Regions from separate parts of the Homo sapiens genome. Here region 2 is linked to region 1. The links are contacts of gene promoters, found by promoter capture Hi-C in blood cells and fetal thymus (Javierre and others, 2016). All regions are on one chromosome and are shown on one strand. Each heading gives the region's core, a stretch centred on a gene start or on the middle of the fragment in contact. The rest is flanking DNA. Distances are from core to core; before and after follow the strand shown. Region 1 holds the start of ZNF121 (zinc finger protein 121). Region 2 overlaps ZNF559 (zinc finger protein 559).

Evidence for each region. The method cuts DNA at HindIII sites, captures the fragments that hold promoters and counts their contacts. A CHiCAGO score of 5 or more calls a contact.
Region 2: a fragment that was not itself captured here is called in contact with the fragment with the promoter of ZNF121 in region 1 in 1 of 17 cell types (total CD8 T cells); the score reaches 5.3 in total CD8 T cells.

What each region holds. Positions count from the first base shown.
Region 1 is chr19:9,581,123-9,586,499 of GRCh38, forward strand. It overlaps ZNF121 (zinc finger protein 121), which reads right to left and starts at 3,382. Exons shown (of 4, transcript NM_001008727.5): 1 at 3,339-3,382. RefSeq lists enhancers at 520-1,333, 1,334-2,146, 2,961-3,772. The HindIII fragment of the contact is 737 bases long and covers 3,079-3,815 here.
Region 2 is chr19:9,342,419-9,347,739 of GRCh38, forward strand. ZNF559 (zinc finger protein 559) reads left to right here. Exons shown (of 7, transcript NM_032497.3): 7 at 1-3,453. The coding sequence ends at 650. The region is part of intron 6 of ZNF559-ZNF177 (ZNF559-ZNF177 readthrough); the gene reads left to right. Among named protein-coding and RNA genes, the nearest start is that of ZNF177, 18 kb to the right of the region's middle. The HindIII fragment of the contact is 3,064 bases long and covers 984-4,047 here.

The sequences.
Region 1 (5,377 bases), core at 2,132-4,631:
CTTTCTAAGAGAATGAGTGTTAGGAATAACGCTCAAAATCCTAAGGAAATTGAACACTCGAACAAAGGATTCTTAGCAAAGCAATTTTACTTCTGTGCAGAGGGGTGCCTCCTTGACCAGTTGCCATGAGAGCACACCTGAACAAAGGGGCATGAGAGCCTTTACTCCTGATGCAAGTCCTGCCCCTGTACCCTTTCCCTATTGGCCGGGGTCAGGTCGTACAATCTAAACTAATCCCGGTTGGTGAAACACCTGATTTTTTTTAGATAGGGTGGGCACGTAGAAGAAAAGTGGAGAGGAAGGGGAAGGGATGTCTGTAGTGAGCTAGAAAGTCCTCTTTCTAAGTAAGGAAAGGTATGTGAGCTGGTACTGATAACGCTTTGTACTGTGGCATGCCTGGGCATCTAACAAAGGCAAAAAGGAGAAAAAAGGAGAAAAAGGGGGGGTACTATGAATTAGAGAATAAAAGATTGATGAGATTATTTGAAGAGAAACCTCATCATATCCTCATATCCCACAGTGTGACTCTCCAAAAGTCAATATAATATACAATAATAACTGTTCTAGGTAAAAAGACACTGAAAACATTAACAATTGCAATGTAAAAATCTTGAATGGATCTTAAACCCAAAAACATCCAAGAGCATACGTTGAATCAATGCGGAGAATTTTAGTTATTATAAAAAGCAGACATTAGATGACATTATTATTTTTTATTTAAGTGAAATACTAGTATTGTGGTTTCAGAATGACAGTGCTATTTTTTTAGGCGATGCATTACCAAGTATTTAAAGGTCAAGTATCACGTGTGCAATTATGCTCAATTTACACTCAAATTGTTCACCATAAAATGTATTTACCTGAGGTGAAAGAAAACAAGCACAATGCTCAAAAAGTAAGTGTTCAGGCACAGTGGCTCACACCTGTAATCCCAGCATTTTGGGAGGCCGAAGCAGGTGAACTGCCTGAGCTCAGGATTTCGAGACCAGCCTGGCCAACATGGTGAAACCTTGTCTCTACTAAAATACAAAAAAAAATTAGCTGGGCATGGCGGCATGTGCCTGTGTCCCAGCTACTAGGTGTCAGGCCTCTGAGCCGAAGCCAAGCCATCAGACTCCCTGTGACCTGCACGTATACATCCAGATGGCCTGAAGCAACTGAAGAACAACAAGAAGAAGCGAAAATAGCTAGTTCCTGCCTTAACTGATGACATTCCACCATTGTGATTTGTTCCTGCCCCAACCTAACTGATCAATTGACCTTGTGACATTCCTTCTCCTGGACAATGAATCTCAGGAGCTCCCCACTGAGCACCTTGTGATCCCCGCCCCTGCCCGCAAGAGAACAACCTCCTTTAACTGTAATTTTCCACTATCTACCCAAATCCTATAAAACTGCCCGACCCCTATCTCCCTTTGCTGACTCCTTTTCTGAACTCAGTCTGCCTGCACCCAGGTGATTAAAAGCTTTATTGCTCATACAAAGCCTGTTTGGTGGTCTCTTCACATGGACGCACCTAATGCTAGGGAGGCAGGAGAATTACTTGAACCTGGGAGGCAGAGGTTGCAGTGAGCCGAGATCGCACCTCTGCACCCCGACCCGGGTAGCAGAGCGAGACTCTGTCTCAAAAAAAAAAAAAAAAAAACTACTAGACTGGGTGTGTTAGATGTTCAAGTTTTCCCTAGGATCAAATTTTTCAGAAAAAAATGTCAAAACTACACTTAGTCTAAACATGCTGTTAATAAATTCAATAGATACTACTTTATTACACTAATACTAGAATAATATTCTGATTATAAAGCCTCCATCCTGGCCAGGAGCGGAGGCTCACGCCTGTAATCCCAGCTCTTTGGGAGGCCGTCAGGCGGATTACAAGGTCAGGAGTTCGAGACCAGCCTGGCGAGCATGGTGAAACCCTGTCTCCACTAAAAATACAAAAAAAAAAAATTAGCTGGGCATGGTCCCCATGCCTGTTGTCCCTGCTACTCGGAGGCTGAGGCAGGAGAATCACTTGAACCCAGGAGGTGGAGGTTGCAGTGAGCTGAGATCGCGCCACTGCACTCCAGCCTGGGCGACAGAGCAAGACTCCGTCTGAAAAAAACAAACAAAAGCCTCCATCCTTTCTTCCTGTGGGCCCGTTTTGAAGCTCTGTGGGGGGGTACAGACCTAGGAACTTCAGATAAAGACAACAGCTGTGTATTATTGCCTTTCTTTCTTTTTTGAGACGGAGTTTCGCTCTCATCGCCCAGGCTGGAGTGCAGTGGCAGATCTCGGCTCACTGCAACCTCGGCCTCTCAGGTTCAAGCAATCCTCCTGCCTCAGCCTCCCAAGTAGCTAGGATTACAGGGGACTGCCACCAAGCCTGGCTTTTTTTTTTTTTTTTTTTTTTTTGTGTGTGTGAGACGGAGTCTCCCTCTTTTGCCCAGGCTGGAGTGCAGTGGCGCGATCTCGGCTCACTGCAAGCTCCGCCTCCCGGGTTCACGCCATTCTCCTGCCTCAGCCTCCCGAGTAGCTGGGACTACAGGCGCCCGCCATCGCGCCTGGCTAATTTTTTGTATTTTTAGTAGAGACAGGGTTTCACCATGTTGGCCAGGCTGGTCTCGAACTCCTGACCTCAGGTGATCTGCCCGCCTCGACCTCCCAAATGGCTGGGACTACAGGCGTGAGCCAGCGCGCCCAGCCTGCCTTTCTTTTGTAGAAAGGCTTGTAGCTGGTAACAACAAAAAACATTAAGTCCAAGAAAATAAAATAAGAAACTAAAGGCTCACAGTCTACACGTGTTCATATTTACATGCAGATATAGGCACACCCTAAACGACTATTTTTTTTCCATCAGAAAGTAATGTGTCAAAAATAAGAATAGGACATCAATGCCAGATTCTCAGACGAGACATTTTTAAGCAAAGAAATGGAAGTCAGAGCCCTCTTGAAACCAATTTTCTGCAGGTGTTCACCAGGAACATGCCGGAAACGCCAGGTTCCTGAGGCGCGGAAATGCGGGGCCGGAGCCAACCTGACTGGAACGGCAGAAATCCTTTTACTTTCAGAAAGAAAGAAACTCACAAAGGTTGCTTTCCAAGCTTTTGAAGAAGGGAGCACAGCGGATGAAACCACTCCAGAAAACGCGCGGAGTCGGGACAAACACACTTCCCGACCTGGCTCCTGACTGGGACCCACTGAGCCTGCGGCCTCTAGCCACTGGCCGCGCAAGGAGGACCGACAGCCCCTGGAGAAGAGAGTGAAACGAGGCGGATCGGAGAGGCTCCTGGGCGACAGCACCCAATCGTTCCTTTGCCGCCCCCCGCTATCTCCGGGATCCCCAAGCAGGCGGAACTCACCACAGCCAGGGTGGACTCCACCACGATAAAGGCGAAATGGCACTGACCATGCGGAGCCAGCGCCGGAAAAGATGGCGATTGTGCGCTGACGTCACTTCCGCTCCGAGCCTCGGGCCGGGCGGGGCTCCTGGGTTCGAGTTTCAGCCACATAGGACCCAGTCAAACACAGAAATTGTAGTTTCTTCCCGGGTGGGCGCGGACAGGCCCTTACTTGGGGGCGGTTTAGAGGTGGGACCCGGCTAGCCGGCGGTTCAGGTGGCCGGACCTGCTGGAAGGGCGGGCGTGGGGGATGGGACGCACCCCAGGGGATGCTCCTGCAGAGCTTTTCCCAGGTGGGCACAGTGGCTAAGGCCTGTAAGTCCAACACTTTGGGAGGCTAAGGCAGGTGGATAGCTTGAGTCCAAGAGTTCAAGACCAGCGTGGGCAAAATAGCAACATCCTTTATTAAAATATATATGTGTGTATACATATATATAAAGCTTGTTTGTATACATCTCATGTTCCTAGAGCCTTTCCATGATTCTTCCATATGGATAAAGCTGCCAGTGAATGGCATGGTCTATCTCTTCTATTCAGTCAGGCTTTCTGTAGGCCTTTATTTCTTCATTCTTTATTTTTTAGAACCTGCTGGTTCCATTGCGTTTTCTTTTTTCGTTTTTCTTTTTCATTTTTTATTTTTTTTTGAGACAGATCTCACTCTGTTGCCCAGGCTGGAGTGCAGTGGCATGACCTCGGCTCACTGTAACCTCTGCCCCCCGGGTTCAAGTGATTCTCCTGCCTCAACCTCCCGAGTAGCTGGGATTACAGATGTCTGCCTCCACGCCCAGCTAATTTTTGTACTTTTAGTAGAGAAGAGTTTCACCATGATGGCCAGACTGATCTCGAACTCCTGACCTCCAATGATCTGTCTCCCTCAGCTTCCCAAAGTGCTGGAATTATAGACATGAGCCACCGCACCCGGCCACGTTTTCAATATAATAATATTTTCTGTAAATCTTGATTTTTTTTTGTCTTCATCAAGTATGTATTTCTGGCTGGGTATGGTGGCTTATGCCTATAATCCCAGCAATTTGGGAGGCCAAGGGATCGTTTGAGGCCAGGAGTTTGAGACCAGCCTGGGCAATACAGCAAGACCCCGTCTCTGTTTAAAAAAAATTTTAAATATGTTTTTGTTTTTGTTTTGAGATGGAGTCTAGCTCTGTTGCCCAGGCTGGAGTGCAGTGGCACGATCTTGCTCACTGCAACCTCTGCCTCCCGGGTTCAAGCGATTCTTCTCTCTCAGCCTCCTGAGTAGCAGAGATTACAGGCAGGCGCCGCCATGCCCGGCTAATTTTTGTATTTTTAGTAAAGACAGGGTTTCACCATATTGGCCCAGTTGGTCTCGAACTCCTGACCTCATGATCCGCCTGCCTCACCTTTCCAAAGTGCTGGGATTACAGATGTGAGCCACCACGCCTGGCCAAAAACATGTATTTCTATTGTTATTTTTCTGATCTTCCCACATGGGCCAGGACCACATTTCCTACATTGTAAAATAGCACTGACACCAGACATTCTCCCCAGGTTTATTCAGAAATGTAACATAATCCCAGTAAAAATATTAAAAGTTTTTTCTGGAGTTAGGTACGTTGATACTAAAGTTTATGTGGAAGAATAAATATCTGATAATAACCAAGAAAACAAAAACAAAAGCAATGATGAGCAGCAGATGTTAAAACATACTATTAACAGTTTTCACACAAGGCAAATAATTAAATTATATTAAAATAAAAATAAATAAGACATACTATAAAGCCTCTATAATTAAAACTATGTGGTACTAGCACATGAAGCAGAAACAGACTAATAAAATATCTAAAAACAGACCCAAGAACATGTAGGAATTTGGTTCATAAATGTGGTATTTTGCCAGGCGCGGTGGCTCATACCTGTAATCCTAGCAATTTGGGAGGCTGAGGCGGGAGGATCACCTGAAGTCAGGAGTTCGAAACCAGCCTGTCCAACATGGTGAAACCCTGTCTCTAATAAAAATACAAAAA
Region 2 (5,321 bases), core at 1,266-3,765, 240 kb before region 1:
AACCGTATGAGTGCAACAAATGTGGGAAAGCCTTCACTGATTCATCAGGTCTTATAAAACACAGGCGAACTCACACTGGAGAAAAGCCTTATGAATGTAAGGAATGTGGGAAAGCTTTTGCTAACTCTTCACATCTTACTGTACATATGAGAACTCACACTGGTGAGAAGCCTTATCAATGTAAGGAATGTGGAAAAGCCTTTATTAATTCCTCTTCCTTTAAAAGTCACATGCAGACTCATCCTGGTGTAAAACCCTATGACTGTCAACAGTGTGGGAAAGCCTTCATTCGATCCTCATTTCTTATTCGACATTTGAGAAGTCACAGTGCAGAAAGGCCTTTTGAATGTGAGGAATGTGGGAAAGCCTTTAGATACTCCTCGCACCTTAGTCAACATAAAAGAATACATACAGGGGAGAGGCCATATAAATGTCAAAAGTGTGGGCAAGCCTTCAGTATCTCATCAGGCCTTACAGTACACATGAGAACTCACACTGGTGAACGGCCCTTTGAATGTCAGGAATGTGGGAAAGCCTTTACTCGGTCCACATATCTTATTCGACATCTAAGAAGTCATAGTGTGGAGAAACCATATAAGGAATGTGGGCAAACCTTTAGTAATTCCTCATGCCTTACTGAATGTGTGTGAATTGGGGCTGATACTTGGAAAGAATGTGGTAAAGCCACTACTTCCTCACACTTACTGAACATGTACTCATTCATAGTGGCAATGTACACAGTCATAAGGAATGTGGGAAGCCTTCCTTGGTGTCTCAGATCTTAACAATTCCAATAGAAGAGAAGACATATGAATGTAAGGAATGTGGGAAAATCTTGGCTCCTTCCATAGGCCTTACTATTCATGTGTCTGTGCATCCTAGGAAACAAACTGAACGTAGGAAACCTGTCGATGCTTACATCTTACTGAGTCTGTTTGAACTCATGCTGGAGAGAAATGCTATGAATGTGAGGAAGGTGGAAAAGCTTTCATTATTTTCCTCGGGCCTTACTGAGCTTGTGAGCACATTGGATATAAATGCACGTCCTCTGGCTGTAAGGAATGTGTTGAAACCTTTCACTCTGCCTTATACCTTAATATTCAGCTGTGATCTCACAAGTGTGAAAAATCTTATGAATGTAAAATGTGTGGAGATTCTTCTTTGTTTTTAGCTTCCACTTTGGGAACATGTCAAAGCACACATTGAGAAGTCCCATGAGTGAAAGAGATGTTGGAAAGCCCTTGAACTTGGTCGTTAGGAAACATCCACACTGAAGAGGAACCTGACTGTATGGAAGGTCAAAAAGGCTGTATTAATTTACATGCAAAAAGTCACACTAGAGGAATGCCATATCAGAATGCTTTTGGTAAATATACATGTTTTAAAGAGGTTATATATCATTAATAAAAATATCTAGCTGGTCTGAAGATCCTGAGTTATCTCAATTGTTCACGGTTACAGATGGAACTCTTTATTATTGAGGAGTTCCACTCTTTCCCCCATTTGTCACTACTACACTTCCCTAGTCTTTAAAACAATTTTAGGCTGGGTGCAGTGGCTCATTCCTGTAATCCCAGCACTTTGAAAGGCCGAAGCGAGTGGATCATTTGAGGTCAGGAGTTCGAGACCAGCCTGGCCAACGTGGTGAAACCCCATCTCTACTAAAAATACAAAAATTAGCCAGGCATGGTGGTACGTGCCTGTAATCCCAGCTACTCGAGAGGTTGAGGCAGAATTGCTTGAACCCGGGAGGCGGAAGCTGCAGTGAGCTCAGATCACGCCACTGCACTCCAGCCTGGATGATATGGTAAGACCATCTCAAAAAAAGAAAAAAAAATTAAAATATCCTCAGAGGGTTTTTTAATGAAAAACTTAGTTATAGGGAATTGAGGAACATTTAGGGGTACAAATTTTCACTTATTGCACACAAGAAAATTGGTACTGGCCAGGCATGCTGGCTCACACCTTAATTCCAGCAATTTGGGAGGCCAAGGCAGAAGGATCACTTGAGCCCAGGAGTTCAAGACCAGCCTGGGCAATATAGTGAAACCTCATCTTGACAAAGAATAAATAAGATTAACTGGGTGTACTGGTTTGTGCCTATAGTCCCAGCTATTTAGGAGGCTGGGGCAAGAGGATTGCTTGAGCCTGGTCAGGGAGGCAGAGGTTGCAGTGAGCCCTGATCGTGCCACTACACTCTAGCCTGGGCAACAGGATGAGACCCTGTCTCAAAAAAAAAAGAAAATTGACGCCAGCAAAGAAAACCAAATAAATTATTTAAGTTTGCCTTTCTATATGTCTTTAAAGACTAATGATATTGAACATCACTTTCATATGCTTATGAGTCTTTGGTGAAGTGTACATTTAATGATCTTTTTTCACTGTTGCTGAGAATCTTTGGTTTGAATTATTGAGGCAGGTTCTTTCAGTAAGTTTGAGATATAATTGCCATGTAATAAACTGCACATGTTTTTAGCATACACTTTAAGTTTGGACACATACACATATGTGTACATACACACCATCAAGATAATGAACATACCTATCAAACCAGATGGTTTCCTCATGCCCTTTTATAATTTCTTCTTCTCCTCACCCTTCCCTGCCTGTCACTCTCCTGATCCACTGATTTGCTTTCTCTTAGAATAGACGACTTTATATTATGTACAGTTTTTATATAAATGGAATCATATAGTCTGGCATCTTTCAGGATAATTTTTTCAGATCCATTTATGTTGTAGGGTCCATTTCACTGCTGAATAGTATTCCATTGCAAGGCATACCACAAGCTATTTATCCATGTGTTATTTCTACCTTTTGGCTATTGCAATTAAAACTGCCTTGAATACCCATATGCAGATTATTCTTTAAACATGTGCTTCTGTTTCTTTAAATAGTTAAGAGTGGAATGATCAGATCATATGTTAGTGTACGTTTAAGTTTTTAAGAGACTGCTAAACCTTTCTCAAGTAGTTATGCCATTTGACATTTCCATGAGCAGTATATAAGAGTTGCAATTCTTCTGCATCCTTGCCAATTATTGGTATGGTCAGTCTTTTTTATTTTGACCATTTTAATAGGTGTGTAGTAGTATCTCATGGTTTTAATTTGCATTTCCCTAGTGACTAATGATGTCTTACATGGTTTCACGTGCTTACTGGCCTTCTTTAAGCCTTTGGGGAAGAGTCTGTTCAAATCTTTTGCCTGTTTATATTGGCTTTATTTTTTATTTATTTTTATTTTTTTTTATATAGAGACAGGGTTTTACTCTGTCTCCCAGGCTGAAGTGCGTGGCACGATCATGTGGTTTTGCAATATTTATTGAATTTTGAGAGTTTAAAATTTGTAATATATTTAATATTAAACCTATTAGTGTATTTGATATTAATACTTTATATTTAATATAATGTACATTTAAATATATAATAAAACATTTCATTTTAACAGAGGTAACATAAATACACTTCCCAATTTATGGAGTTTGACTTAGTATTGTTTTTAATTTACAATGGTGCAAACATATTATGCATTCAATATGTTTCTCAATTTATGATGGGGTTACAAATTGTCAACTTATGATAGTTTCAACTTACAATAGGTTTGTCAGGACATAGCCCTGTCATAAGTTGAGGAGTATCTGTATTACAATATATTTAATATGTTGTACTTGTGGTACAAGTACATGGTGCACTTTGAGTTAAAATCTTTATATGGCACAAAGATTGGATCAAAATTTGGGGTTTTTTTTTTCTTTGTATCTCATTGTTCTAGCATCATTTATTGAAAAGACTATCCTTTCTCCACTTAATTGCCTTTGCTTCTTTCTTGAAATATTGGTTGTCTTTATACGTGTGTCTGCTTCTCAACTGTTCTGTTCCATATAGCTACTTATCTTTTATTCCAAGACTACCCTCTCTTGACAACTTCATAACTTTTGAAGTCCGATAGAGTTTAGTCTTCCAGCTTTTTCTTTTCAGAGTTGTCTTTACTATTTTAGGTCAGAGGTTGGCAAAGTTTTTTATAAAAGACCAGATTGTAGAGATTTTAAGCTTTACATGCTATATATAGTTTCTGTTGCATATTATTTTTTCTATTACAGACCTTTTAAAATATAAAAATAGTTCTCACATTCCATTCAACCTATACAGTTATAGGCTGTGAGCCACATTTGGTCTTGATGTGGCTGTACCTTGTTGACTTACAGCTGTTACAGGACTTTCGTATTTCCATATAAAGTTTAGAATCAGGTTGTCAATTTCTACCAGCACCACCCCACACCCCCAAAGTAATTCACTAAGATTTTGATTATCATTGTGTTGAATCTGCAGAATAATTGATGTCTTCACAATATTGAGCATTTCAACCCATGAACATAATATATCTCTCCACTTATTTAGGATTTATAATTTTTTTCTCAGTAGTATTTGTGTTTTTCGGTGTTTGGGTCTTCCTAGGCATTTTTTCTCTGACACTATTGCAAATGGTATTTTAAAAATTTCAATTTCTCTGCTAGTTCACTACTACTATAGAGGAACACAGTTTTTTTACATATATTCATCTTGTATGCTGCACCCTTGTTAATTTGTTCTGGAAGATTTATATTAACATTATACTTAGAATATATTAACATTATAATAAGCTACATAATTTTATTTTTTTATTTTTTAAATTAAAATAGAGATTGGGGTCTCACTATGTTGACCAGTCTTGAACTCCTGGCTTCAAGCGATCCTCCCATCTTGGCCTCCCAAAGTGTTGGGATTACAGGCGTGAGCCACTGAACCTGGCCACAATTTTATTCTTAAATGAAAATAGATCTTTGATATCATCGCCAGATTCATATTTGTTTTTTGTTTTCTTGAGATGGAGTTTTGCTCTTGCTGCCCAGGCTGGAGTGCAGTGGTGCCATCTTGGCTCACTGCAACTTCCACCTCCCAGGTTTAAGTGATTCTCCTGCCTCAGCCTCCCGAGTAGCTGGGATTACAGGCACCCGCCTCCACCCCCAGCTAATTTTTGTATTTTTAGTAGAGACGAGGTTTCGCCATGTTGGCCAGGCTGGTCTTGAATTCCTGACCTCAGGTGATCCACCCACCTCGGCCTCCCAGAGTGTTGGGATTACAGGCATGAGCCATCACGCCCAGCTACCAAATTAATATTCAAATATATGTTGCCATTACAGAGTGATAACTAAGGACACTTTGAGGTATAGGCATAGCTGTGGTAAAAACAGCTCTCTCCAGCTTTGCATCTAAGTTGTAAAATAATTACATTGATGCTTTTAAACCTGCCATGTATAATTTTTCAATGTATTAGCCATTTAA